5 separate regions of the Homo sapiens genome follow, and all the other regions are linked to region 4. Evidence: promoter capture Hi-C in 16 types of primary human blood cells and fetal thymus (Javierre and others, 2016). All regions are on one chromosome and are shown on one strand. Each heading gives the region's core, a stretch centred on a gene start or on the middle of the fragment in contact. The rest is flanking DNA. Distances are from core to core; before and after follow the strand shown. Region 1 overlaps TTF2 (transcription termination factor 2). Region 2 overlaps CD101 (CD101 molecule). Region 3 overlaps TTF2 (transcription termination factor 2). Region 4 holds the start of ATP1A1 (ATPase Na+/K+ transporting subunit alpha 1). Region 5 overlaps VANGL1 (VANGL planar cell polarity protein 1).

Evidence for each region. The method cuts DNA at HindIII sites, captures the fragments that hold promoters and counts their contacts. A CHiCAGO score of 5 or more calls a contact.
Region 1: a contact is called between a fragment that was not itself captured here and the fragment with the promoter of ATP1A1 in region 4, in 2 of 17 cell types (activated CD4 T cells and naive B cells). The highest score is 5.8, in activated CD4 T cells.
Region 2: a fragment that was not itself captured here is called in contact with the fragment with the promoter of ATP1A1 in region 4 in 2 of 17 cell types (activated CD4 T cells and non-activated CD4 T cells); the score reaches 6.6 in activated CD4 T cells.
Region 3: a fragment that was not itself captured here is called in contact with the fragment with the promoter of ATP1A1 in region 4 in 1 of 17 cell types (activated CD4 T cells); the score reaches 6.6 in activated CD4 T cells.
Region 5: a contact is called between a fragment that was not itself captured here and the fragment with the promoter of ATP1A1 in region 4, in 1 of 17 cell types (fetal thymus). The highest score is 5.2, in fetal thymus.

Annotation. Positions count from the first base shown.
Region 1 is chr1:117,072,614-117,075,313 of GRCh38, forward strand. It overlaps TTF2 (transcription termination factor 2), which reads left to right. Exons shown (of 23, transcript NM_003594.4): 4 at 1,048-1,114; 5 at 2,257-2,700. Among named protein-coding and RNA genes, the nearest start is that of TTF2, 14 kb to the left of the region's middle. The HindIII fragment of the contact is 827 bases long and covers 985-1,811 here.
Region 2 is chr1:117,008,035-117,010,734 of GRCh38, forward strand. It overlaps CD101 (CD101 molecule), which reads left to right. Exons shown (of 10, transcript NM_001256106.3): 2 at 1,816-2,196. Among named protein-coding and RNA genes, the nearest start is that of CD101, 7.6 kb to the left of the region's middle. The HindIII fragment of the contact is 3,067 bases long and covers 1-2,700 here.
Region 3 is chr1:117,091,842-117,094,541 of GRCh38, forward strand. It overlaps TTF2 (transcription termination factor 2), which reads left to right. Exons shown (of 23, transcript NM_003594.4): 17 at 1-109; 18 at 890-1,060. Among named protein-coding and RNA genes, the nearest start is that of MIR942, 1.5 kb to the right of the region's middle. The HindIII fragment of the contact is 177 bases long and covers 1,216-1,392 here.
Region 4 is chr1:116,371,954-116,374,653 of GRCh38, forward strand. It overlaps ATP1A1 (ATPase Na+/K+ transporting subunit alpha 1), which reads left to right and starts at 1,291. Exons shown (of 23, transcript NM_000701.8): 1 at 1,291-1,570. The coding sequence starts at 1,559. RefSeq lists silencers at 918-1,447, 1,878-2,177 and an enhancer at 2,548-2,667. The HindIII fragment of the contact is 4,966 bases long and covers 1-2,700 here.
Region 5 is chr1:115,643,808-115,646,507 of GRCh38, forward strand. All of the region lies in intron 1 of VANGL1 (VANGL planar cell polarity protein 1), which reads left to right. Among named protein-coding and RNA genes, the nearest start is that of VANGL1, 3.2 kb to the left of the region's middle. The HindIII fragment of the contact is 4,549 bases long and covers 1-2,700 here.

The DNA.
Region 1 (2,700 bases), core at 148-2,647, 700 kb after region 4:
GGGATTTCACCATGTTGGCCAGGATGGTCTCGATCTCTTGATCTCGTGATCCGCCCACCTCAGCCTCCCGAAGTGCTGGGATTACAGGTGTGAGCCACCGCACCCGGCCAAGATATGAACTATTTTTTAAAAAATATTTGTATGTTTTAGAGAAGGGAGTCTTGCTGTGTTGCCCAGGTTTGAGTGCAGTGGCTATTCACAGGCACAATCTTAGCACATTGCAGCCTCTGGCCTCAAATGATCCTCCTGTCTCAGGCCCCTGAGTAGAGGGGACTATAGGTGTGTGCCACTGCATCCAGCTGCACTCTTTTAACATACCAGTTGGTTTACATATTTTCAGTGGACTCATAAATGTCATAGTTTTTTTTTAGTAGTTTTAATTTGTTTAAATCAGGATCCAAATAAGGTTCACAAATTGGAATTGATTAATATGTCTTTTAAGTCTCTGAAGTTTTCCCTTCATCTTTTTTTCTCCCTCGTAACTTATTTGTGGAAGGGATCAGGTTGTTTGTCCTATAGCGTTTCCCACTGCCAAGATTTTGAAGGTTATATTCTCCACAGTATAGTTTTACGCCTTCTTCTGTTGTTTCTATTTCCTATAAATTGGTAATTGGATCTAGAGGTTAGTTTTTTGTTTGTTTTGGCTTCGTTGTTTTGGGGTTTTTTTTGGGGCAACATTGCTTTGTAGCTAGTGTTGTGACCCCCCTTCAGGGACACACAGTGTCTGGCTGTCTCTCATTTCTCTGATTTTAGTAGCCATTGCTGATCAGTGTTTCTATTTCAGTCATTCGTTACAGACTAAAAAGAATAAACCTGTGTGCATTCTCTGGCTACCATGCCATATTTATTCTTGGACTTCCTAGCCCTTATAAATGTTCTGTGCAGTAAATAATTTTTAAATGTGTATATAAAAGTAATTGGTTTCAAGTGACCTCCCAAAGCCAGGTTCAAATAGTTGCAAGATGTTTTCTTGGATTAAAAATAAGCTTATCTCTTGTTCTAATGGATTTTCATAGCCTTGATTATTTGTGTTTTATACTTCATTAGATTGTTCTTCCGATGCATTAGAAGTAAGGCAGAGGGGAAACGCTGGTGTGGAAGTATTCCATGGCAGGTAGGAATTATTCATCTGTTTTCAAACCTGCTGTGTTAAGACTTTTAATATGCAGCATCACCTGAAAATACCTTGAAGTTCACGTAAATGAGTTGGTCTTCATCAGACTGTCTCCGAAAGATAGTTTTCTTTAAGCAAGGTAGGCCCTGTTGGGACTTTTATTCAAAGGATCATTTAGTCGTAATCAAGATTAATTATTTGCATCCTATTTCACTTAGTAAATATTTTTTGAGGTCTTAAATGTAGTCAGTATTCTTTTACTCAAGGAAAAAAATAGATTTCCTTGACTAACTCTTGTATCTTTTTATAGAGGAATTTCTACTTGATACTGGTATAAGCTAAGTATAAGCATAAGCTCCTAGTATGTTAGAACTAGGAGGAGCATCTCCTAATAGGAGAAGCCCTACAGATATTCAGTACGTGAGGAACTAGAAGTAGGGAGGTGATAAGACTTGTTTTGGCAGAGGTGTGGCTTGAACTTACGATTCTAGATTACCACAGTAAAATCCTCCTAAAGCCAAAATCAAAGCAAGTGTTTTAAGACAATGTTTAGGTTTGGGGAAAAGTTCATCTTAAGAGAATAGTTTTTTTCCTGAAAAGTATACACTGTGGCCATTGTGATTGTAAAAGCACTTTGGTTTGTCACTACTTTTCCTTGAGGCCTGGAAAAGAGTGATCATGGACAGAGAAGGAACCAAGCTTCGAAAGTATCGTGAAGAAATGAGTCCTTTGTGGGTTTGGCACGTCATCTTTTCTAGACGTGGAAATGGTACCAAGAATGTTCAGGAAATATTGGACTGCTTTTACTGTGTTTCCATTTCTTCTGCAGAATAATCCTAAGTGAATTAATGCAGGAACAGAAAACCAAATATCATATGTTCTCACGAGCAGGAGCTAAACATTGAGCACCCATAAACATGGGAACAATAGATACTGTGAACTACTGGAGAGGGGAGGAGGGCATGGGTTAAGAAACTATCTATTGGGCACTATGCTCACTGCCTGAGTGCAATATACTCATATAACAAAGCTGCATATGTACCCCCTGTATATAAAATAAAAGTTGAGATGAAAAGGAAAGGCATTCTAGATACGAAGTTTGTATTAATATTTTATATGAAGATTAATTATTTTGTCTTTAGGATCCTGATTCCAAAGAACATTCTGTATCCAATAAGTCTCAGCATGCATCTGAGACATTTCATCATTCTTCCAACTGGCTGAGAAATCCATTCAAGGTACTTGACAAGAATCAAGAACCAGCTCTCTGGAAACAGCTCATCAAAGGTGAAGGTGAGGAAAAGAAGGCTGATAAGAAGCAAAGAGAAAAGGGAGATCAGCTTTTCGATCAAAAGAAAGAACAGAAGCCTGAAATGATGGAGAAAGACCTCTCATCTGGCCTGGTACCAAAGAAAAAACAATCTGTAGTTCAAGAGAAGAAGCAAGAAGAGGGAGCAGAGATTCAGTGTGAGGCAGAGACTGGAGGCACACACAAAAGAGACTTTTCTGAAATTAAATCTCAACAGTGCCAAGGTAATGAGCTTACAAGACCATCTGCATCTTCTCAGGAGAAATCAAGTGGTAAG
Region 2 (2,700 bases), core at 180-2,679, 640 kb after region 4:
GTATAACTTGTTGGTAAGTAATAATTTACATTTTTCTAAGGTGGTCTAACTTGTATTCCTAGATTCTTATTACAAAAAAAGCATGATATAAATATGTCACATTAATTTGGACTTATGAATAAATTAGTGTATTCTAAATTATTATAGAGGCTGAGCGCAGTGGCTCACACCTGTAATTCCAGCACTTTGGGAGGCTGAGGCAAGCAGATCACTTGAGGTCAGGAGTTCGAGACCAGCCTGGCCAACATGGTGAAACCCCGTCTCTACTAAAAATATAAAACTTATCCAGGCGTGGTGGCCCATGCCTGTAATCCTAGCTACTCAGGAGGCTGAGGCAAGAGAATCACTTGAACCTGGGAGGCAGAGGTTGCAGTGAGCCAAGATTGCACCACAACACTCCAGCCTGGGTGACAGAGCAAGACCGTGTCAAAAAAAAAAAAATTATTACTAGAAATGTGTGTGGTTGGCTGACTAGTTGGTTGGGCATTGGTTGGTTTCCCAGTTTTAGACTGAACATACATATATGAAATATATGCACTTGACTGCATCAGGTGACCACTTACCTTTTCTGTGCTTTTGCCCTTTTTTGTAGTTCCCTCCTATCCCTTAGAATTATTTTCATTTCATCCCAGATTCCTATACTCAGCCTTATCATGTTCTCTGTAATGTCCTTTTTCCTTTCCCTCACTTTTTTTTTCCACTCTGGTCTCCTTACTCTTTGTCCCTGTGGAGTCACAAAATGCAGCAGAGGCTCTGCTTCTTACTCATCTTCGTATGAACTCTGTTCGGTTAACTCCATAAGGCCAGCAATCTCTCCCTGTCTGGCCCTTCTGGTGTCTTCCAACCCTGTCTTCCCTTTTACAGTACCCTGGGCCCCTAGTGGAAGAACTGACCACTCTTGTGGCATGTCTTTGTTCTTTCTGCAACACAAAATGAACTAGCCTTTAATATCAATCATAGTAAGTAAAGATATGCTTTTTGATTTCTGAAAAATGCTTGATTTAAAAAATTTGTCAAATGAAATATTACCATTTAATCATGCTTTTTCCTTTAGACCTAATACTTCAGATTTGTTCTAATAGAAAACATTCCCTAGTGGTCCCAATGGAAAACTTTTGGTAAGAAAAAAGCTAAAATAAATTCTAATCCCAGAACCTGCTGGATTTTCTAGCCATCTATTAGGAGGCTTTTCAGTAAAGCTATAGTGGCTCTTTAAGAAATGACAAAACAAAACCAAAAAAACCTCCACAGAATAGAAAGGAAGTGCTGCTGCCTCGTCAGATGCTAATGTTGGCTAGTCTTGCAACAGACCTGGCTAGGAGCTACAGATAGTTCCAACCAACCAGCTAGAAAAATCATGGCACCAAGGGCAGAGCCCTAGACTTTGCGTCTCCAGCAACTACTTCTCTGGGAACTGCCCGATGGCAGGCACCCTGGAATTTGAGACTTGAGGAAGTATATGCCAAATTTTCTCAGAAAATAATGTAAAGTTACCATACATTTATTTGCTTTAAAATAAGTACACTTCGATAAGCAGATGTTTTATAGAAGTGGTCGTGTTACATTGATGAAGCTAAATTTTTTTAAGAGACTGAAGATTACTATGGAAGTTAAAGTTATAAAAGAACAATTAACTCATCAAGCAATTCCACTGCTGCTCAGCCTGAAGAAGATGTTGAACATTTGAGTCAATTATAGCTAATAACTTGCGATCTCATTTACCAGAATTGTAATACAGGGAAATACATAACGTGGTACACTGGGAACTGGAACACTAATCTCTTTTTATTCCCCTTTCTTTCTCCTACTTACAAGCTAAGCTCAGCATTGGCCAGAGAGAAGTAACAGTTCAGAAAGGACCACTGTTTAGAGCTGAAGGTTACCCAGTCAGCATTGGCTGCAATGTAACTGGCCACCAGGGACCTTCTGAGCAGCATTTCCAGTGGTCTGTTTACCTGCCGACAAACCCGACCCAGGAAGTCCAGATCATTAGCACCAAGGATGCTGCCTTCTCTTACGCAGTATATACGCAGCGGGTGCGAAGCGGAGACGTCTACGTGGAGAGGGTCCAGGGCAACTCAGTCTTGTTGCACATCTCAAAACTCCAGATGAAGGATGCTGGCGAGTATGAGTGTCACACACCAAACACTGATGAGAAATACTATGGAAGTTACAGTGCAAAGACTAATCTAATTGGTAAGTTGCTTGTCCACTTCTGCTAGCCAGCCCCTGAGAAGCCAGAGTCTCCACCATGACAATATCTTGCAATATGACATGGCTTTATATTGTTCCATTTTCTTTGGGAAAAGAGCCCATGTACCCCTGTGGATATTTTGGAGATATGTCACAAGTGGGTATCTCATATTCTCTAAAATTATCTGTTTCTTTTTCTCAATTATCTTTGCCATAAATATTTAGATGGTGTGTGGTTTTCCCAAGGCCTTGTCCGCAGCTCTCCATAGGTTGCTAGTAGCAACAGCATTCAACAAAGCTGTGAGAGTTCTCCCTGTGTTGTCTCTGCTTGCAGGCAGAACAGTAATTTGACAAGAAAGCTGGTACCATAGGTGATAAGTCATTAACTTAGAAATGATAATTCTCAAACTACCATTCTCTAGCATATTTACACATTGGGAAAGGGTGATAGTCCTTGCAATTGTCACTTTGTCCCTTTGTCTGGAATATCTATCACCCCCTTTTCAG
Region 3 (2,700 bases), core at 54-2,553, 720 kb after region 4:
GCCTAGACACTCGGAGGCAGCAGACTCACCGAGATCCAGCACCGTCCACATACTGTCCCAGTTGCTGAGACTCCGCCAGTGTTGCTGTCATCTTTCTTTACTGAAGTCGGTAAGAAAAGCCCTCAGCCTGCTGTCATATAGTGCTCCAGAGGGGCCACCTGAGAAGTCAATTTCACTCTCCTCCAACTGGAATCCAGTCTGCTTGATCAAAGGAAATGCTGTTTCGGTTTTTCTATTTTTGTTTTTTGGTGGGTTGGAGAAAAGGGGGCTTATTTATTTTGCTTTATTTCATATTAATCTTGATAATTCCTATGGCATCAAGAATAGTGTATTTCTATTGTTTATTTTGTTTTAGATTAACTGTTTAAGAAAAGAAAATGATATTTTGTTTAAAAAGAAGCCATTTGTGAATGCTCTGGTACTTCAGAATGTCATAAAGCTAATTTAGTTCTTGGGGTTTTCTGCTTTCAGGCAGTTTTGGGGTTTTGGGTTCCAGTTATAAAAACTCAGATAGTTATACAGACTGAAAAGTTGCCCCTACCTTGGATAGAGGCACATCCAAAATTAAGAGGAGTATTCTATTCATTTAAGGAGCTGTAATAATGTATTCTGATTATCAACATCTCAATTATATTCTAGCTTGGAAAAAATAGAATGATTATGTCATCTGCCTGGCAAGTCTTTAAAAAGTTCCATCATTTGGTTTATCTTTAATGTGGTGAAAAAACTTGCAAGATCACACTTTAATCAAGGTGTCTTGAGGAGTTACTGATGACAAATTACAAGATATTTTGCTCTGTGAAGTGGTAAACAATCAAAACATCATCAACAAGTAACAAGGTTTGCTCCCTTGACTCCCAGCTGCTCCTGTCCTTTTTTGTCTGTTCAGGCCCTGGATCCAATGGAACTGAAGGGTGAAGGTCTTGTCCTTTCCCTGGAAGAACAGCTCAGTGCTTTGACCTTGTCAGAACTCCGTGACTCAGAGCCATCTTCCACTGTTTCCCTTAACGGCACCTTCTTCAAGATGGAGCTTTTTGAAGGCATGCGAGAGAGCACCAAGGTACTTTTTGTCTCCTCTGTAGTAGTCGAGAGACTTCGATTCCTCACACATTTTCCTGTGTGACAGCACTTCATTTGTCCAAGTGGGAACAGCCATTTGCCAGCAGAGCTAGAGCCGTTAAATTCTAGCTGATCAGATTCTCCCTCCAGTCTTAAAGCTTCATTTATTTCACAGATAACACTAAAGCCTTACTACATAGGGGACTTTGAGAGAGTAATTTGGGACAACCCCAGCATTGCACTGAAGTGGGTTTTCTGTCATGGGTCACTGGGGAGCTTGCCAGGTTTGTGCTAGGGACGGGGCCTATGCAAGTGAGCAATTTGTTTAGAGAAAGCTTAAAAGGAAAACAAAGGCTTGACTCTAGAGACTGTGTCATACATGCGAGCGCCAATTGCTCTGACTTTGAAAGGCTTCCACATGTGAGTAGTGTTTCCTACATAGCCTTCTGTCTTCATTAGTCATTCTGCTCTGTTTTCGTCAGAGCTTTTTAAGGCAGAAACATTCTGCTGGAGGAAGGCTTAGATATGCCGTAACCTGAATCCTGCCTGTCTGCTGGCTCGGAATGTGCTTCATCATCCTGCCTGTCTTGAAAGTGAGGCTTGTTTCTCTCTTAGCATCTCAAGCTGCCGTTCTTGGGCTCAACCTCTCTTCAAAGGCTTTTTTTGAAAAAGTGTATTAATAACTAGAAAGGTCACTTCCAGGGGAATGGCATTATTTTTTAAAAGGAATGCTGCCTTTTAATTAAAATTTGAAAACATTTACCTAGGTCTTTACCACTGATAGCTGAGAGAAACATAAGAAGAGCATCCCATGTGGCCAGAACACACATGCTAGTGCCTTCAGAGTGAGCTATTGGGCTAAAATTTAAATTCCTAATCATTTGTGTTCCTTGTTTAATTAAATGCAGGTAATATTTATTCACAAGTTTTCTTAACATATGTCCATTAATAGTTCAAACCACATACGGTTGTTTCAAGTAGGGAAGGAGGCTTCTTACTGGAATTTGACCCCGGCTCGTGGGCCATAAATCCAGCCCTCCTGCTGCAGTTTTCTCAAAACACCATGGCTAGCTTTTTCATGTGGGAGTCACAGCGCCTTCCACAATCTCAAGTTGCCAAGACACCAGGCACATCAGTGTCTCTGTTCTATTGTTAACTAAATAACAGATGTAGCTGCTTTTCTGTCTGCTAATTTGAATGGTACAGTTCTGTGACTCACTTCCTGCCTAGGCACCAGAATGTTTGTTAAGATTGGAAAGCAGCCCCATGTGGTGACCACTGTAATGACATCCTAGAATGTGGGAGCTCAGGGCACCTCAGAATTTATCTGGCCTAAGTCCTTCTTTTCACTGATGAGGAATCTGAGTCCCAAAGTGGTCCAGCCATATGAGGACAGAGGAAGAACTTCTGTATATTTGTCTCCTGATTGACTTACAGCCCAGTTTTCTTCCTTCTCCAGCATTCTGGGGGTGAACTCTGGGGCCCTTAGAGGCTCTTGAAAGGTTTTTCACATGAGCAGCTGGGAAGAATGAGCCCAGCTGCACTCCAAAGTCATGCCCCACGTGTTCTTACTGACAGCTCCCCTGTGGACTCAAGTGCACCCTAAGGGTTCTTGGGGAATACCCAGGGAGCCTGTTCGGA
Region 4 (2,700 bases), core at 41-2,540:
TGATGTAACTGACAACACAGTTTCTAGTTTTTCCTTTCTTTCCTTCCTTCTCCATTTTTTCCAGTTTCATATCCTTGTTTGTTCATGCTACATGAATACTTGAAGTTGATAGAGTTGGCTTTAACTTAGGAACCTTTGCTTAGAAAGTCAATATCCTGGCCTTTCCCAGAGTACTTGACTTCCTGCAAACCTTGTTAATAATACTTTGTTTTTTAAAATGTTGGAGAACTTCAGCCATTGCAGCCTCTTGCTAAGAAGCAAAAGCTATAATGACAGAGAAGCCCCAAAGTGCAGTGGAACCAGGGATCTCCGGGGAGAGTGGTGGTTTCCTGGGCCCCCCCAGAGAACCCAAGGCTGTGCTGGAGATGCTGCCGTGACAGGTGGAGGCGTGGAGAGGCACCTGGCAAGTCCTCAAACGCCTCCCCCTTGATTTAGCTCCTCTAGCTAAGGATACGCATTCCTTTGGGTTTCAGGTTTTTCTTCCCTAAAAAGAGAATCCCCAAACTGGACAAGCAGGTTACATTCACACAATAGCGTGAATGAATTCGCTGGTCGCCCTTCAGATTCTCATTTTGGAATCTCGAAGAAAGAGAGGTGGTGGGAGGAGGGCGCTTGAAACTTCTGGCGATGCCAGTTCAGATCGATTCCAGCTATGACGGAGCGGGAAGTGGATAAAGAGGACCCCAAGTCACAGGAGGCACTCTGAGAGCACCAAGCGCCCGGGGAGGCCATCCGCAGGTGGGCGCGGGGCCTGGATTCCACAGAGGGGCGGAGTCCCTCAGTCAGGCGCTGGCTGCAATCACACCCGAGCGCCAGCCCCCTCCAGCATCCCTGAGTCCCAGAGGAGATCGCCGAAGCGCTGGAAAAGCCGTTCCGCCCACGACTTCTGGTGCCGGGTCGGCGGCGACTGGGGGAGCCCAGTTCCGAGACCGTACCGCACCCACTGCGGACCTCCTGGGCCCTACATAGTAGGCGGGTCATGCAGGGCAGCGGGAGGAGGGGCGTGGGAGGGCCAAGGCCGCCGAGTCCCCGCTGTTCAGCCAGCAGGAGCGCCCCGCAGCCCTCCCGGGACACGGTGGACACGCTTGTCCCAGACCTGGGCGCCCTCCTGCCGGGAGCCAGGACTGGCCGCAGCAGGCGCTGTCCGGGCCCGTGGGCGGGGTTTCGGGAGGGGGCGGAGCCAGGCCCACGGCCGGTGTCAGGTTGCTCCGGTAACGGTGACGTTTCGCGGCGTGGGCGGGGCCAGCACGCAGGTTGCATATTTTAGGAAGTGAGGAGGAGGCGCGGGCTGGAGCTGCGGCGGGGTCTGGGGCGCAGAGCAGCGGCGGGAGGAGGCGGACACGTGGCAACAGCGGTAGCAGCCCGGGCGGCGGCAGCAACAGCGGCGGCGGCATCGGCCCGAGCCGCCGGCCGCCCTCCCACCCTCCCGCCCCGCGGCAGCCCTAGCTCCCTCCACTTGGCTCCCCTGGTCCCGCTCGCTCGGCCGGGAGCTGCTCTGTGCTTTTCTCTCTGATTCTCCAGCGACAGGACCCGGCGCCGGGCACTGAGCACCGCCACCATGGGGAAGGGGGTGAGTGTCCGGCGCGCCCGGGGAGGGGGCTCGGGGAGCCCTCGAGGGGAAGAGGAGGAAGTCGGGAGGGCGACCGCGGCCAGCGGGAGGCGGCGGAGGAGGAAGCGGCGCCGCGTGGAGTGGGCTGGCAGAGCCGCGCGGCTTAAAAGACGACGCAGTTTGGAAATGGAGGGAGCGCAGTAACGGGGGGCGGGGGAAGGGAGCGCCGAGGGGCTGGAGCGCGGCATTGCTTAGGGGGGTGGGCGGACCCTGGGCGGGGGCTGCGCGCCCCGGAGGCCGAGCGGGCCGGGGGCTCCGAGAGGCGGTGCTTGGGAAGCCTCGGGGCCGGGAGGAGGGGGCTTGCAGCAGCGGGGGCGGCCCCGGGACTGAGCCGGCATCCCTGAGCCTGGCTCCCCTCCCTGCGACCGCCGTCACCTCCTTCTCCTTCCTTTTCCCTCCGCCCTCCGTGCCCTGAGGAAAGGCGCGCTCCTCCCCTTCCCCTGGGGCGCTCCGCCGGGGCCTCCTCCCGGGCCTCCGTTCCCGCCGCGGCCCCGGTTCCGGCGGGGGCAGCCTCCGGGTTCGGGGCTCCTTCTCCTGGGGACGCTGGGGCTTAGCTTGCTCCGCGCAGAGGCGGCCGCCCTCCCCCAAAGAAAAAACTGGCTGCTTCTAAGTGCGAAGCCGGCTGGGCGGGCTGGTGCCAGAAAGGGTGTGTCTTCACTGCCCTAAGATGGCCTTTAAGGTATACTTTTGAGGGCTTTCTTGGGCCACTTTCCGTAAACACAGGATGCACCGATGGCAACTGGAGTTGTCATCCGATGGTGGGGAGAGGCGTGCAGATTTTTTTTGAAGGGACGAGCCCTGAAGGAGGATAGGCAGACCCACCAGGGCCTCAGGGTACAAGAAACCCGAAAAAGGACTGGAGGCTGCAGGCAATACGGTGGTAGGAATCTCTGCCGGTTTCCAGCGTCGCGGAAGCACCAAAGGGCGGTCCCTGAAGGAAACGAGGGGTCTTGGGGCTGGAGAGCGGCGCGGAGCGTGGTGGGAATATCGTCACAACGCCGCTGTCCTACATTTCTGTAGCGAAGACTTGATTACCCCTAGCTATTACCCGTGCAGGAGACTGGGCCCTGGACCCCAAATGAGCCAAAGTC
Region 5 (2,700 bases), core at 101-2,600, 730 kb before region 4:
GAATGAAGAAGGCATCCTCCCCTTCATCATCCCCTTAACACACTTATATACACACACTGTGCTTGCTACCCTAGGCCTTATCAGCTATTTTGGTGGGATGGGCCCTTGTCACATTGTGTTTTAATTGGAGGTCTCCACATTGGGGCTGTGAGCTCATTGGGAGTTAGAACTATTTTAGATCCATTTCTTTTCTCCTGAGTGCCCCACGATGCTTGGAACACTGAACCTGTGAGTAGAAGTTGAAATTGCAAAATTCTTAGTGGGGTTATATGTGGTTTGGGACAATTTGTGATTGTTGCTTATACTCCTCTATATAAACAAACAATTCTAGTAATTGCTACAGTGCTGTCAATTTTCTGTAGCTAAGAACACAGGTTCTGGAGTTAGACTCTCAACGTTTAAGCCCTGGCTCCTGTGGCAGTCTGGTTTCCCTAACTAACATGATATTAATGTCTTATTTTTCTTAAACACTTGTTATGCGGATTAAGTGAGATATTACATGTAAGTGACTTAAAACAGCATCTAACACATAGTAAACACTTGACAACTAGAAACTGTTAGACTATTACCATCATCTCTGTAAAATCAGCTAGCTGGTTAGGGTCTCGCTGTATAGGGCATGTGATTTGGGCATCATGCTATTCTATTTTCCTTAAGATGGAAAAGATTAGGTGGGCTTGTGATTGGACCATGTTTCTGTTAGCAATATTGGTTTGGTGTTAGCAGTATTGGTTTGATGTTAGCAGTATTGAAGTTTGATGCAAGGATACATGTGTGTGCTGTTGTCTCTAGCAGTGTCCTTCTGAATCCCAGTTACAGGACAACAGTGATCAGACTCTGTACCATCAGATTTACAGAGGAGATAGTACTCATGAGATCTATTTTTCTGAAGTTTAAATATCTGGCAGGGAACAAGGGAGTCACTTGCAAGCAAATATACATCACATAACTCCAGACATGTTAACGATTCACACCTCTTCAGAAATCTGTACCCAGCTGCTGGAGGTGTTTCAGGGGTAATTAATGACTGGAGCCAAGAGAAGTTATTCTGGCAAGGTGAGTTGAAATCATTGGCGAAACAAGTAAAACAAAGTTGACATTTTCTTTCCTTGTAAATAATGACCCAGAATCATTCATTTATAAGCTGTTGTAATAAAAGAATCATTGGGTTTGTCACAAATGCCATAAGCCCAGCAGATCCTCACATCAGTGACCTGCATGATGTTTGGTGGTTTATAGGCCACAAGTTCAAAATGTTTTATAGATTTGCCCTGCATCTCTGCCCGCTCCTTTCCAGCCCATGCCCCTCCAAATAAACCCACTAAAACACACACGGTTTCCTCTGGTCTCTCTGACATTTGCTTCCAACCTGGGGATGGTAAATAGAGGCCTGTAAGAAACAGAATAGAAATCACTTGTTACTCAGCTATAGCTAATAGTAGCAGTTAAAGGTGGTAGCAGAGACCAGAAAAATGTGTATAAGTTCAGTGAAAATGATACAGAAGTTATATGCCATACAACCCCTTCAGTTCTTCCTAACTGAAGGAATTTTACTCTAGTGAATACTAGTAGTAGTTGACAGCTGTGAGTGCCTACCACGTGCTAGGCACTGTTCTAATAATTTTTATGAATTATCTCATTTAATACCTACCACAGATCTATAATATAAGTAAAATAAAATCTGTTGTTACAGTTAGGGAAACTGAGGCAGAGAGCAGTTAAGTAACTTGTTCTGAGGTCACACAGCTAAGTACTAGAGCCAGGATTTGAATGCTCTTCACCCACAATTTGGGCTCATTGCTACTCTCTAGAAGAATAGTTGACTCTAAACAAAATTATTTCAATTGTCACTTTCCCCTTGAGTGCCATTTAATTAAGAATGGGTACCCCTAAGAAGAATGTTAGCTTCAAGACATAATATAAATAATAATTAATAGCATAATCTCTGCAGAATTCTATGTAAAAATCAAATATTCAGAATAATATACACAGCATATATAAGCATGGTTGTACCAGACACCACTTTTCCTTGGAAATAGATCTACTTACTGCATAGGAAGCAAAATCTCTCTTTAAATTCAGTGCGTGTCTCTGTAACCCTTACAAAGTAACTTTCCAAACCAGAGCTCCCTTAATTACTTAATAGCTCTAGGCAGAGCTGTTGATGTTTTTATAATTTCCTTTTTGCGAAGGTTAGCTTATGTTTACCACTGTCATTATCATAACATATTATTTCCTTCATACGATTTGCTAAACACTGTGTTTTCATATTAAGTAGTAGGATTTTTATATGAGTGAACATGACTTTAGGAGAGAATTCTGTTTGAGGCTGATTATCTTCATTTTGCTTTTGATAAAGGGTGGTGAAGGAGGTTCTTTCTGACATTTTTGCCTAGGAAGTCCAGAATTTAGGACACTGCCACTTAGAAGCACTCTGTGCACCTATCTCCCATTGTTGACCTTGCCTGCATGCAATGTGGTTCAATGAGCCTGGCCGTGTCCTAATATTTGCCTCCAGCCCCTACCCAAGCAGTGCCAAGCAATACACTCTTAAGGGGTGGGTGACCGGTGAGGCAAGATGCTCTTGGGCAGTGGCTGAAAGAGGCTGCTGCTGATTTTTACTCAGTGTGTCTGGCATACGAACTCTGCCCCTGAGTGGGACTGCCATGCGAGCCAGTAGTATAGCTTTTTTTTTTTTTT